Regions from separate parts of the Homo sapiens genome. Here all the other regions are linked to region 2. The links are contacts of gene promoters, found by promoter capture Hi-C in blood cells and fetal thymus (Javierre and others, 2016). All regions are on one chromosome and are shown on one strand. The core of a region is centred on a gene start or on the middle of the fragment in contact, and the rest is flanking DNA. Distances in the headings are between cores, read along the strand shown.

Region 1 (4,457 bases), core at 1,955-4,454, 620 kb after region 2:
CCGGTGATCCCCAGCCATTCTCAACACACCTGCAGGAGCACAGCCGTCAGAGAAAAGACGAGCAGCCCCCCACGTTTCTCGGGAGCCACGGGCTTGCACAGGCACCCACGTGGGTTCTGCTTTGCTGTTTGCCAGATGTGGGCACACAGGCCGTGGAGGGCTGTCTTGGAATGAGAAGATCCTTGGGCAAATCTGAGAAAGGCCAGATGACACTGTGATTGCCCAGGTGGCTTCGCGAGCAGCCACTGCAGAGAAGGCGAGCTAATTCTCCGAAACACTCCACTCCACTCAGGCCAAGTGAGAAGCATGCAGACGTTTGTAGAACAGTAGACACACAGCTTTGTCATGTACAAAAAAGTTTAAATGTAACTTGAATTTTTATTTAAATTAAGTAATCGGAAGAATTTTTGATTAGTGAAGTGGTTTTTTCAAAAACTTATTCTCCACCCAAAGAGAGAAAGAGAGATTTTTTTCCTCTGCCCTTTTCCTTATGATTTCACACATGTGCTATAATAAGTGGTTGCTTTTAGATGAGTTTTAGCATCTCAGAGACTCTTCAGACTCTGGTTTCGAGTGGACACAAGTATCTGAAAATTGAAATTATTGTGAATTCAGCTACAAATGAACACTATTTCACTTGATATTAAAATTTAACCATATTATTTTTATAAAATAAATGGCAATAAAATGCTTTATTCTGAATATAAATGATGTACCAATGTCTCTGATTTTAACCAGAATAAACACCCCTGTTTCAAATTCTGATAAGCAGGTAATTTATTTAAGATCACGTTGAAATGACCCTAGAAGTGAAGGGCATTTGAGTTTCCAGCTTTCCCACTTTATCTAAAAGGGGAAAAACGGTGTCTGGCACTCAGCTTTTCGAATGTGCAAAACTGATAAACTAGTCTGTTAGGGGAAAAAAAAAAGACAATGAAGAAATAAAAGTGGAAATTAGCAGAAACCAGTATTAGGCATATGTCTTTATGAATAAGACTTAACCATACACTTGATTTTGCAAGTACAGAAGGCCCTGTGGAATGTATTAATCAGAGTTAAACGCTGTAGACAGGCGCGTTGCAGGGCGGCGGCCCTCTCCCCTTGGCATTACCGACAGCCGAGGAAATTGGGTTAATAAAGCCGGATACTGCGGCGGGGCCGCGGGGCGCAAACCGGCGCGGACAGATGGGTCCCCGGGGGCACCCTGCCCGGCTCCCTGGATCCCGGATGGTGGCAGAGCTGGGAGCTGCGCAGGACGGGCACTGCGCAGCGCATCTCCGTTCACACCCGGCGGGGCACGGGGCCCGCAGCAGCTTACTCACCCGTAGCCCGGCCTCCTCCCTCGGAAGGGAGAGGGGATCGGTGGGGAGGGGGTTTGCTGGACACCAGGGCTAGACGGGGCCCTCCCCTGACCGTCAGGGTTAAGTAGGGCGCGGGCTGTGAGGACCCTCCTCCACGCAGCCCCCCGAGGCAGAGGGCCCGCAAAGCGGTCTCCATCCAACTCCACCCCGCGGACGTCCCAGGCAGCGGATGGCGGCGGGGGGGGGAGGCCAGGGGACATTTAGGGGACAAATTCCTCAGACTTCGAGGCAGCCGGCGACGGCGTCCAATTCCCAAATAAATAGAACAAACTCCTACTTGGAAAAGGCCTTCCCCGGGGTCTTCCTGCGCCCGCGGTCCAGCTCCTCTGCAGACGGCCATCGTGGGCTCTCCGCAGGGCTGCGGAGTCTCGGAGTCACCGAGGTGGGAGGTGCCGGCCACGCGCGTCCTCAGGAACAGAGCACTGCCCTGCAGTTTAGCACGAAGGGCCGGCTGGAGCGGGAGCGCGAGGCCCACTGCAAGAGGATCAGGAGCCAGTAAGTCCGGCTTTTCTTCGTCTCCACCTTTCGTGCGCCCGGGGCCAGGACCGCCTGTCCGGAATCTGACCAGTGCCCGTCCTCGCCGTGGCCCTGGGACCCCGCGGTGGTCTTCTTTTGGGGACGAACGGCAGTGCCCGAAGGATGCTCTACCCACCCCCGTTCCTAGACTTGCTGGGTCCCGACAATACCCAGTGGGTGCCGCGAGTTCCCGGGCGCAGAGTCCAGCGTCCGGCTCTCGAGCTCAATCCCGCGCCCCGACGGCCTTGGCGCTTCCCGCTGCGCTAAACTGTCCACCGCGCACAGGCTGGAAGCGAAGTCGGGCCCCCTCCTCCTGGTCTGCAGGGTCCCTCCAGGCCTTTCCTGTCCGGGCAGAGAGACAGTCACAGGGGCGATCGGAGGACGCGTGCGGGAGGGCCGGGGGCCCGCGCGGTCACGGCTTCTCGTGACAGTGTTTGCAAAGCGCGGAGGGCGTCCCGGAGAAGGCGGCGCACTTGTCAGGGCAGGGCCCCAGGGCGGCGCCTGCGGAGAAGGGGCACACAGTGGCCTGGCCGAAGGGCGTCAAGGGCGCGGCGTTTACGGGCGCGGCCAGGCCCTGGCCCTGGTTGAGGAAGGCCACCAGGCGCCGCATCTCGTCCAGGGCCTGCGCCTGCATGAGGATATAGTTCTTGGCGAGCAGCAGCGTGGCGATCTTGGAGAGCTTGCGCACCGACGGGCTGTGCGCGTAGGGGATGACGGCTCGCAGCCCGTCCAGCGCGTCGTTTAGGTCGTGCATGCGCCGCCGCTCGCGCGCGTTGATGCTGAGCCGCAGAGACCGCTGCTCTCGCGGCCGCCGCCGCCCGTCCGCCGCGCTCCCTGGCCCGCGCCGCCGCCGCCGCTGCTCGAAGGCGTCGTCCTCGTCCCCGCTCTGTTCGCCGCTGCTCTCCGCCGCCTGAGCTGGGGCGCGAGGTGCAGGCGCCGCGGGGAGGTCGCCGCCCGGGCCCGGAGTGCCGTAGCCGCGGGCCGCTTCGGGTTCTCGCGCCGCCCCGTAGGCGAGACCCGCAGCCGCCGCCGCGTAGCCGTGGCTTAGTGCCAGGTACGCGTCCCCCGACAGCGACTTGAGCTCGGCCATGGCCGCGCCGCCTGGGCTCGGGGGCTCGCCGGGTGGGCGGATGCTCATGTGGGTGAGCAGCCCCCGAGGCCGGCCCGAGCCCGCCGCTGCCGCTGCCGCTGCGATGAGGCTCCCGGCTCTGCGCGTCGGTCTGGCTTGCCTGCGGGTCCCAGAGCCTCGGCGCCCGCTGCCTCCTCCGCCTCTTCCTTCTCTCCCACCTCCTCTCCCTCCCAGCCGCGACGCGCAGGGGGCGGGCTCTACCTCCCCCTCGCCCCCGCTTCGGTTTTAAGCCGCGGAGGCGCCCGGTGGGACCTCGCTGCTGTCCAATCAGGGGGGACCGGGTGAGCTCCTCTTCCTGGAGCCGGGCTCCACCAGCGCCGCAGGCTCACAGGCCGGGGGTGGGGGCTCTGGACCGAGGGGCGGCGCGGGGCGGCGCGGGGCGGCGCGCGCGGTCCTGGAGCGCTAGTACTTGCTTCTCGACTCCCCGGCCGCCGCCTCCGGCCGCCCCGGGGATTCCGCCACCAAACGCACGCGTCCCAGGTGGGCACCCGCCTCGGTCCGTCTTTGAGTCTGACCCTAGCGCAAGAGTCCCTGGCGACACGCAGGGGCCAGAGCGGGGGGGCGCGCCGCAATAGCAGCAGCGCCAGCGCCAACACCCTGTCCCGCTGAGGGGCCGCTTCGGGTCGGGGTCAGGGTCGTGGGCGCTCTGGTGCAGCCGCGGCGCAGCGTGTACCCGGAGCCCGCACACTCCCTGCTCGGGGCGCCCTGTGGCCAGGCTTGAGGGGCAGAGTGAGAGGGAGTTTCTAGAACCTGTTGAAAAACGCCACGAGCGTTGCAGGCCGGGGAGGGCGGGAAGGTGGAGGGCAGCGCGGCCTGGGGCTCCCCGGGGGTGGGAGGGGAGCTCTGTGAGCTGCAGGACCGCCTCTTCCCTGCCAGCCGCTTCCTGGGCATCTATCAGCGAAACGCGTGAGGCTTGGTGGGCTTTCCCGGAGCCTCCGAACCCCTGGGGTCCAGCCACACTGGATGGGAATGTGGCCAGCCTCGGACTCGCCTTTTCAGTCCTCTTCCAACCCCGCATGAAGGCCAGAACCCCAGCCCTTCTCCCAGGTGGGAACCTGCCTGGAGGCCCGGCCGAGTGCTGAGGCTAGAGTGTGCTGAGGGATAGTGGCTTCTCCGGTCCTGGCTTGGGTGGGAGACTGGGCCACCCTGGCCTATGGCACGAGGTGGAGCGGCCCGTCGGGCCCTTCTGTGTGACCTGGGAAGGGCCGCATACCCTCCCTGTTCTCCAGGCTCCGCCCCAGGAGGAGCCACAGCGATGGGGCAGTGTGCGCAGCCCCGGGAGGGGAGTGGGAGCTGCACGTGTGTGGGGCGGATGTGCTGTCTGGAAGGTTCTGGGAACGCAGCAGTGACCGGCCTGTCCGGTGGTTCCCTGCCAGGTGCGGGGTGTGAGGAGACAGATGCATGGATAAGTCTCCGTGGGAAACTCAGGCCTTTGTCCTGGCGGAGGGGAA
Region 2 (4,747 bases), core at 2,248-4,747:
TTGACTTTTATATGCAACTGTGAAACCATTGCCATCATCAAGACAGCATATACCTCCCATCACTCCCCGCGTTTCCTGTGTGTGTCTGTAATCCCATCATCAAGACAGCATATACCTCCCATCACTCCCTGCGTTTCCTGTGTGCGTCTGTAATCCCACTTGCTCACCACCCCACCCCAGGCAACCACCAACATGATTCCTGTCAGTTTTGATTGGTTTGCATTTTCTAGAGTTTATACAAATAAAATCACACAGTATGCTGTCTTTCGAGGGGGACGTACCATTATTTATCCATCTGCCTGTTGGTGTATGTGTGGATTGTTTCCATTTTTGGCTATGACACATAAAGCCTCGATGAACATTTCAGTACCAGTCTCCGAATGGACATATGTTTTCTTTCCTTTTTTTTTTTTTTTTTGAGACGGAGTCTCGCTCTGTCGCCCGGGCTAGAGTGCAGTGGCGAGATCTCGGCTCACTGCAACCTCTGCCCAACGGGTTCAAGTGATTCTCCTGCCTCAGCCTCTCCAGTAGCTGGGATTACAGGCGTGCACCATCAGGCCCAGCTAATTTTTGTATTTTTAGTACAGACAGGGTTTTGCCATGTTGGCCAGGTTGGTCTCCAACTCCTGACCTCAGGTGACCCACCCGCCTTGGCTTCCCAAAGTGCTGGGATTACAGGAGTGAGCCACTGCACCCAGCCTGGATACAGGTCTTTTATCAGATACAGGTTTTGAAAATATTTTCTGCCAGTCTGTGGCTTTCTTTCTTTCCTTCCTTTCTCTCTCTTTTTTTTTCTGGGTCTCCTGTCACCCAGGCTGGAGTTCTGTGGCATGATCATGGCTCATTGTAGCCTCCACCTCCTGGCTCAACTGATCCTCCCACCTCGGCCTCCTGAGCATCTGAGACTACAGACACACACCACTACATCCGGCCAATTTTTAAATTTTTTTGTAGAGGGGTTTCACCATGTTGCCCAGGCTGGCTGGCCTCAGACTCCTGAGGTCAAGCAATTGCCTGCCTCAGCCTCCCACAGTGCTAGGGTTACAGGCATGAGCCATCACTCCTGGCCTCTAATCTGCTTTTTTTGATGTGTCTTTGTCTGATTTGGGTATCAGGATAATACCGGCCTCATAAAATGATTGGAAGCATTCCCTCCTCCTCTATTTTTTGGAATAGTTTCAGTAGGATTGGTATTAGTTCTTTAAAAAATGTTTGGTAGGCCAGGTGTAGTGGCTCACGCCTGTAATCCCAGCACTTTGGGAGGCCAAGGCGGGCAGATCACGAGGTCAGGAGTTAAAGACCAGCCTGGCCAACATGGTGAAACCCCATCTCTACTAAAAATACAAAAATTAGCCAGGCGTGGTAGCAGACCCCTGTAATCCCAGCTACTCTGGAGGCTGAGGCAGGAGAATCGCTTGAACCTGGGAGGTGGAGGTTGCAGTGAGCCAAGACCGCACCACTGCACTCCAGCCTGGGAGACAGAGCAAGACTCCGTCTCAAACAAACAAACAAACAAACAAACAAACAAACAAAAACTAAGAATAGAGCTGCCATAAATAAAGCAATCCCACTGCTGGGCATATACCCAAAAGAAAGGAAATCAGTATATGAAAGAGATACCTGGCCGGGTGTGGTGGCTCATGCCTGTAGTCCCAGCTACTGAGGAGGCTGAGGCAGGAGAATCACTTGAACTCTGGGGGCAGAAGTTGCAGTGAGCCGAGATCGCACCACTGCACTCCAGCCTGGGTGACAGAGCGAGACTTTGTCTCAAAAAAAAAAGAAAGAAAGGAAGAGATACATGTGCTACGATGTTTATCACAGCACTATTATTTGTGGGAGCTAAAAATTAAAACAATTGAATTTGTGGAGACAGACAGTAGAAAGATGGTTACCAGAGGCTGGGAAGGGTAGAACAGTGGGAGGAGGGGGGCAAATGGGGATGGTTAATGGGTATAAAAAGACAGAAAGAATAAGACCTAGTGTTTGATAGCACAACAGGGTGTCTACAGTCAATAATGATTTAATTGCACATTTTAAAATGACTAAAAGAGTATAGTATTGGATTATTTGTAACGCAAAGGATAAATGCTTGAGGTGATGGATGCTCCATATACCCCATGTGATTACTACGCACTGCATGCCGGTATGAAAATATCTCATGTGCCCCATAAATGTACACACCCACTATGTACCCAAAAAATTAAACATAAAAAAACTTTTTTTTTTTGAGACGCAGTCTTGCTCTGTCGCCCAGGCTGGAGTGCAGTGGCGGGATCTCAGCTCACTACAAGCTCCGCCTCCCGGGTTCACGCCATTCTCCTGCCTCAGCCTTCCGAGTAGCTGGGACTACAGGCGCCTGCCACCACGCCCAGCTAATTTTTTGTATTTTTAGTAGAGATGGGGTTTCACCATGTTGGCCAGACGGGTCTCGAACTCCTGACCTCAGGTGATCCACCCACCTCCGCCCAAAGCGCTGGGATTACAGGCCTGAGCCACCGCACCTGGCCACTGAGTCTTAAGTTTTCTGAGGCTAGTTCTACATCCTAGGATCATGTCCCCCGCCCAGAGAAGACCCCAACATAGGCCGCGCTGCTCCCTCCGTCTACCGGTTTGGAGCTTCTCCTGGCAACAGGGTTCAGGCTACTAACAAGGCCTTCCTCAAGACCCCACCCATAACCAACGACCATACTTCGTGGGTCCATCTTTGTAACATCTTTACTTCCTTGGAGCAAATTCCCAGGAATGGGTTTTCGGGGTCCAAGGGTATGCACCTCTAGCACTACGACAAACGCGGCCAACACGCTTCAGGGAAACGGTGCCCCAGTTTGCATTCTGCTTCCCCTGCCCTGCCCTGGGGGTCTGACTGGTGAAACATGGGATGGCAGAGTGGTCGGGTGTTTCAGATTCCACGGTGGGCCGGGGTCTTTTCCTACCCTCGGGAGCCGTCTGAATTTCTCCTCTGCCGAGTTCCTGCGGGTGTCCTTCGCCCACCGGCCCGGGGGAGTGAGTAGCAGGCACCAGGTGAGCAGGCCTCCGCTCGCAGCGGCTACGTGCACGGGCAGGAGCACCGCCCCACGCCCCAGGTGGCCGCAGGGTGAGGGGACCGGAGGGCGGGAGGCGCACAATGGGGGGCACGCCCGTATCTCTAGCCCGGCCGGCAGCGGGCAGCGAGGCTCAGTCCTCGCCCCTTCTCCCAGCTGCTATTCGGGGCTCCCGAGGCGCTCAGAGGGGTCGACTGCGTCCGTGGGGCACAACCCAGGGGCCAGGCTAAGACGCCACACACGGCAACGACCCTCAACGACAACGACCCCCACGACGCCCCGCGCCCCAGGGCCAGCAGGCTGGGGTCCGAGAACCTCCTTGCCGGAAGCGGAAGTGCGTCACGGCGACGGCCGGCAAGCACGCACCGCGCAGACTCGCTGTGGTGGCGTGACCCGGAAGCGCTCGCCGAGGCCCCTCCTTGCCCGCCGATATCTCTGCCGGGTGACTAGCTGCTTCCTTTCTCTCTCGCGCGCGGTGTGGTGGCAGCAGGTGTGGCGCGCGGCGCGGGCTTCGGGCTCAGGGCTGGGGCTGGGGCGGGAGTGGGGGCTTGGACGCGGGGGACGGGGTGCGGGGTGCTGGGTGCGGCTGGGGCCGTGACCCTAGGGGCCGGTTTGCGCCGGGAGCCGGGGCACGGTTCCGGCCGTACTCACGGCGCCGCGCGGTGACTCCCCAGGCGCAGCCCAGCCTCGAAATGCAGAACGACGCCGGCGAGTTCGTGGACCTGTACGTGCCGCGGAAATGGTAAGCGCCCCCCACATGCCTCTCTTCCGTCCTTACCTAACCACCACGTCCCCTCGCCTGCCCTTGTTCCCCCACACCCCTCCCGTCCTTACCTCGTCACGTCCCTAACTTGTCCTGCCCCCGACGTTACTCTTTTCCATTCATATACCCCCAACCTCCCTCGTCCCCTCTTTCATTCTTACCGCCCAAGTCCCCTCTGCTCACTGCGCCCTTTCTCCACAGCTCCGCTAGCAATCGCATCATCGGTGCCAAGGACCACGCATCCATCCAGATGAACGTGGCCGAGGTGAGCTGGGAGCCCGGGAGGCGGGAAGGTTGTGATATATGTGCGGGAAAGGCAGGCTGTCCCATTGTGGAGGAGCCCCTGGGGTGAAGGTACAGGCAGAGGCTGGCTTTGAGGATTGGTGTTTCCCAAACCTGGGGGAGTGGTTTGTGACCCTTCTTCTCTTTCTAGGTTGACAAGGTCACAGGCAGGTTTAATGGCCAGTTTAAAACTTATGCTATCTGCGGGGCCATTCGTAGGATGGTGAGTGTTTCCCTGGGCTTTGCTCATCACTTCGGGACATCGTGGACTTTACCGTGCGCATTGGAGTGTGTGATGGTGCCTGAGTAGATCTGCTGGCAGAGTAGTTTGAGCCAGCTGGACTGGGCTGGCCGCCTGCCGCTTCTTGAGGGTGGAAGAGGGGTGCTCTGAGAAGACACTCAGGCAGCAGACTCTGCCTCTCACTAGGAGGTGCCCCCCCGACCCCGCTCCACCATAGTCAGGCTGCAGGCTGCCCCGGGAGAGGTGGCTCCCCTTCTGCGCCTGTCTCCATTCGCTCAGCGGGGGAGAGACGTGGGCTGGTGGCACAGCTGACCTTCTGCCATCTCAGGCAGCCGGAGTGGAAATATTCTTAGTGTGCTTTTTTTTTTTTCTTAAGGGTGAGTCAGATGATTCCATTCTCCGATTGGCCAAGGCCGATGG
Region 3 (4,675 bases), core at 2,004-4,503, 570 kb after region 2:
GCCTTTGGTGTAACTAGCTATGGCAAGAATCTTTTAAGAGATGTGCTCTTTGGAGATACAATGTCCTGAGCTTGTTTGCCTTTTCCAGAAGCCACAAAATGGCTTTGAAGATAAACAGGCCCATGCTACAGAGCCACCGGCACAAGGCACCTGGTGTGCAGGAGCTGAGGTGCAGCCTGTGGTTAATTGATAATAATCATGTCCCCACATCTGCACAGTGGGGGCTGTTTCTCTCATTTCACACCCCAGTATCCACCAGTCAGCCTGGTGCATGTGTGCGGGGAATATTTAAAGGGAATGTGACGTTCTGATTTGTCTGTAACATTTCAGTGTCACCTAGTTCAAGGCCAGGTTTACGGGTCCAAATTGTCCATAGTACAGAAGACCATTTATCAGGTGAAGCCCGTAAAGCCATAGGCACAGCTATAACCAAAAGAATTCATGAAAGGAGTAACAACTGAAGGTGAGTGGGTTTCCTCATGTTTGTAAATGCAGGTCACGTTGCAGGCTCTTCCGCCAGCTGTCCGTCCATGCAAGGCAGTTGGTCACCCCGCAGGCTCACTTCGGAGATGAAGAGTGCTGGGTGCAGCAGCGCCTCCTGTCCTTGGGTCTCTGTGTATTTGAGGTGGAATTGATGAGCTTGGGAACCAGGGAGAAGCGGTGGAGCTGCTGTTGCCTTGAGCTGCCCGTGTCAGGCAAGGTCTCCGCCTGGCTGTGACTTCTGCTTCCTGGAGACACATCTGTAGGCGTTCCTCACACAAACAAGGTTTTCTCCCTCTTGTGGATCACGGTGTGTGACTGACAGCTTTGGTAATTTTCCCAGCTGGCTTTGAAAGTGAAGCAGGCTGACCCGTCACCAAGAATTCTCTGCCATGGAGGGTCATGGAAGAACGGGAAGAGGTGCTGGCGGTCACAGCAGCCCAGGGTTCGTCTGTGCTCGTTTATAGATTTGTGTGCCCATCCAGTCCTCACTGGGCCCTCCCAGTTTTAGAAATGTTGAACACTAGTGCTTGTAAGATTCGAACAATGAGTTTACCAGCTCTGAGAAAAATGAACTGCTCCAGAACCTTCAAGAATGTTTCTCTGTATCACGCCCACATCACACCGAATCCATTTGTCGTCATTGCAGAGTTCATCTTTCTGGTTTTGAGCACCATCTCACACAGTTCTTTGTCTTTTTCCAGTCTGCTGTTGACTGGGTTAGCTCAGCCCGAAAGGTGCCCCCACCTTTGAGGCAGTTCCCGCACGTGATGTCCAGTACCGCGGTCTTCCCTCTTGCTGCTGCCTGTCAGTCATGGCAGAGGAAAGTGTCATCTGTCAGTCTCCTTTTCATGGACTCCTCATCTTGAGAATTGTAGTTGGGCTGGAAGGTTGCAGGGCTAAGTGGGGTGCAGGGAGGAGCCCCAGGCCCAGGGCTGGCTTGTCTTGGTTTACAAGAAGCTGTGCGGGGTCTCCTGGGGCGTCTGTGGGGGGTGTGGATGCAGAGGCTGAGCAACGGGCGCCATACGTAGTGAGGTGTGGATTTGCTTTAGGAAAATCTCTAGCATCGTCTCCCTATAGCAGCACTTGAAATAAACAAGAAGTTAGGTGGGCCAGGCCCAACAAGAGGGAGGCACGCAGCCTTCCAGAAGCAGAGGCCAGTGGGTGCTGGCTGTGACTGCCCTGTCCGCAAGGTCACCCTGTGTCCTTGAAAACCCAGGTGTTGACTGTCTATTGTCCCTACATAATTTTTCACCTTAGGCCTCAAAGATGCTTGGGTGCGGGGCAGCTCTCAGAATCCACCAGAAGCGTGGAGAGCCTCCATCTGGCCACTACCAGCACCCAGCTTTATAATGTCCCTGTGAGATGGCCCCTTCACCCACCCAGCCATCCCTGCATGGCCCGTTTCTTCAGCTCATCCAGCCTTCACTCAGGTGTCCAGGGGTGCCTCCTCAGCCCAACCTATTTGAAGTAACACCCCTTCCCTACCCCTTTCACTACTTTGATTTTTGTCTACCTGCCCCAGAACATCAGCTCCAGGAGGAAGGGGACTTTGGGTAACCAGATGGCAAATGTCTGCTGCAGCATGATCACAGATCTCGGTAGGAAATCACCATCACAGAGTGAATGGAAGCGAATCACCTCAAAGAGGGTGCTGTTGACAGCGATACGTTTAGCAACAGTTTCCAAACTTCCTGGCTATGGGCTAGGGCTGTTTGGGGCAATAAACCTCTCTCTGCCACCATCTTTTCACCTACCCTACGTCAGGATGGATGAAAGTATGACCTTGCTTTTCAGGGTGCCCGTGTCTTTCTGTTCAGAGGGCCCTGGGAGCAGGCCCTGCAGTGCAGTGGGTTGGGCTGTTGGAGACCTGAGGGCTAGGGGGAGGGAGGGGGTAAATGTGGGTCTGTTCTAAGTGCAAGGCCCTGCCTTAGACGTGTCTCCCTCGGCCCCTGGGTGGTGGCTGCTGCGTGGAGGATGGACTGAGGTGGGCCCTAGTGGAGGTGGGGGCAACGCCTGAGGAGCAGGCCCTGCCGCCTCCTGGGGAAAGGCTGCATGGTTGAGGCCTTCCCCTGCTGGCTTCATCCTTGGCATGGCAGCAGGAGCACACAGAGTGGGGGCCCCACCCCGTCACCCCTGCCCCCGAGCCCAGAACCTGGCCTGTGATGGGTCCTCAGGACACCTTTTGTCCAGGAACCCAGGGGCCAATGACAACCTTCACAGGCATCTGCTGAGAAGACATGGGCCAGCGCTGGATTTGTCCAGCTCTCCCAGGCTTGGTCCAAGGGCTCAGGAGTGGACCCATCCCTGCCCCGAAAGATCCATTTTAAAAATCAGTGACCCTGTACTTTTACTCTCTTTGCACTTGGTTAAGACTTTATCCCTGATTTTATTTGATCGGTAAGGCAGGGACTGCCATCATTCCCCATTTTATAGACAGAGGACAGACGGCCCCATGGCTCCGTGTCGTGTCCAAGGGATGGGCTGGCACCTCTTGGACCAGGCTTACCACCAGGGCCCTTCTCTGAAGCCCCAGTCTGACCGGCCTGCTGCTGGGAATCCCCCTCTGCCCCCACACTAACCTCTGCTGGGGCTGAGCCAGGGCGCGTCGGACAGTCAGGGCGACCCAGCCAGGGCGACCGTTGGCCCCGCTCCTATGGGGCAGCAGGGACCGACGTCAGCAGGGTGGGGCGGGCACCCGAGTGGTATGCCCCGCCCTGCCCCGCCTGCCCGCCCTGGTGGCCGTCTGGGGGCGACAAGTCCTGAGAGAACCAGACGGAAGCGCGCTGGGACTGACACGTGGACTTGGGCGGTGCTGCCCGGGTGGGTCAGCCTGGGCTGGGAGGCAGCCCCGGGACACAGCTGTGCCCACGCCGTCTGAGCACCCCAAGCCCGATGCAGCCACCCCCAGACGAGGCCCGCAGGGACATGGCCGGGGACACCCAGTGGTCCAGGTGTGGCGGGGGTGAGGGGAGGGGGGGTGGGAGCGGTGGAGATGGGGCCGTGGGGAGGGAGCTGAGATACTGCCACGTGGGACGATGCTAGGTGGGGAGGGCTGAGCTGGGCGGGCTCCTCTGGCTGTGGGGCCCCCTGTGTTCCTTGTGGGAGGTGGAAGGAAGTGAGTGCCCTGTCCTTCCTCCCTGCCATGAGATTCCAGGACCGGACCTGGCAAGTGCCCTATCCCAGCCAGTGTTCCTGGGGCTCTTCCAGGCAGGGCTATGTTCCCCAGGCCAGGGGCATTGTCCTGGACAGTCAGGAGGCATACCCCTCGCCAGGTGGAACCACCCTGTGTATGCATGACCCTGACAAGCAGGCGCCAGGACAGTCAGGAGGCCAGGTAGGGGGCACGGGCTGGAGCCTGCAGCTGGACGGGGTTGGGGGGGGTCCTGCCACCACGTGCCAGCTGTGTGCTGAGGACGAGCTCCCCGCTGGCTTCAGCTCTCGGAGCATTTGGTGGTGGGGAGAAGCAGGGCCTGGGCAGGTCGCCTGGCCACCAGCACTGCTGCCTGTAGGAGGCTCCCTGGGCAGGTGACGCCTCAGAAACCGGGCGAGATGGTGACCGCGGGCCATTGGTCAGCTGGGGAGGGCCTCTGCCAGGGAGCTCCTGAGAGCAGCCCCCACACTGCTGAACCCCTTGGCTCTGGGTCTTGGGCTGAGGCCTTAAGTGGCTGGACCCTGGGCCTAGACTCAGGCCCTGTGGGTTCCAGAGCAGTCTCCTGCCTGCACTGAGTCCCCAGGGTACCTACCCTGACCATGGCAAGGTAATGGCACCTTCTGGCCCCACCAGTTCCCAGCTGTATGAGGGCTGAGGACCCTAGAAGTGCTGGGAAGAGTTGTAGGAAGGCCCAAAGGGGCAGTGCCACCATCGGATGTTGGCACCCAGATGAAGGGAGCGCTGGCTGCATGGGAAAAGCTGGCAGCCCAGATCACAGCCCTGTCAGGCGCCAATTAGAGGGGAGGGCTGCCCTCAGCGGGCCCTGCCCCTTGCTCTCTTCCTCTTCCCCCACCCACGTTCATCCAGGCCTGCCGGGCAGGGCCAGCTCCCCAGGGATTCAGGGCCTCCTCACTGGCGGCTGGTTTGAGTGGCTCCGCCTTCACTACGTCCCTCCCAGGCTCGATGTTTAAAAAGGAGCCCTTGCCGCAGCCTTCACTACGTCCCTCCCAGGCTCGATGTTTAAAAAGGAGCCCTTGCCGC

The links. Contacts are between HindIII fragments. The CHiCAGO score rates a contact against its expected background, and 5 or more counts as called.
Region 1: a contact is called between the fragment with the promoter of BHLHE23 here and the fragment with the promoter of RPS21 in region 2, in 5 of 17 cell types (non-activated CD4 T cells, total CD4 T cells, activated CD4 T cells and 2 more). The highest score is 8.5, in non-activated CD4 T cells.
Region 3: a contact is called between the fragment with the promoter of SLC17A9 here and the fragment with the promoter of RPS21 in region 2, in 1 of 17 cell types (neutrophils). The highest score is 5.8, in neutrophils.

Annotation. Positions count from the first base shown.
Region 1 is chr20:63,003,760-63,008,216 of GRCh38, forward strand. It overlaps BHLHE23 (basic helix-loop-helix family member e23), which reads right to left and starts at 3,205. Exons shown (of 1, transcript NM_080606.4): 1 at 2,168-3,205. The coding sequence starts at 3,015. The coding sequence ends at 2,290. RefSeq lists enhancers at 86-599, 2,924-3,629, 3,630-4,337. The HindIII fragment of the contact is 10,733 bases long and covers 1-4,457 here.
Region 2 is chr20:62,383,606-62,388,352 of GRCh38, forward strand. It overlaps RPS21 (ribosomal protein S21), which reads left to right and starts at 3,498. Exons shown (of 6, transcript NM_001024.4): 1 at 3,498-3,531; 2 at 3,716-3,783; 3 at 4,006-4,069; 4 at 4,238-4,309; 5 at 4,704-4,747. The coding sequence starts at 3,734. RPS21-DT (RPS21 divergent transcript) reads right to left here and starts at 3,384. Exons shown (of 1, transcript NR_186459.1): 1 at 2,698-3,384. RefSeq lists enhancers at 2,636-2,685, 2,964-3,655, 3,656-4,347 and silencers at 3,036-3,155, 3,586-3,775. The HindIII fragment of the contact is 6,470 bases long and covers 1-4,747 here.
Region 3 is chr20:62,949,456-62,954,130 of GRCh38, forward strand. SLC17A9 (solute carrier family 17 member 9) reads left to right here and starts at 3,254. Exons shown (of 13, transcript NM_022082.4): 1 at 3,254-3,434. The coding sequence starts at 3,376. RefSeq lists an enhancer at 2,664-3,493 and silencers at 3,045-3,364, 3,375-3,474. The HindIII fragment of the contact is 6,510 bases long and covers 1-4,675 here.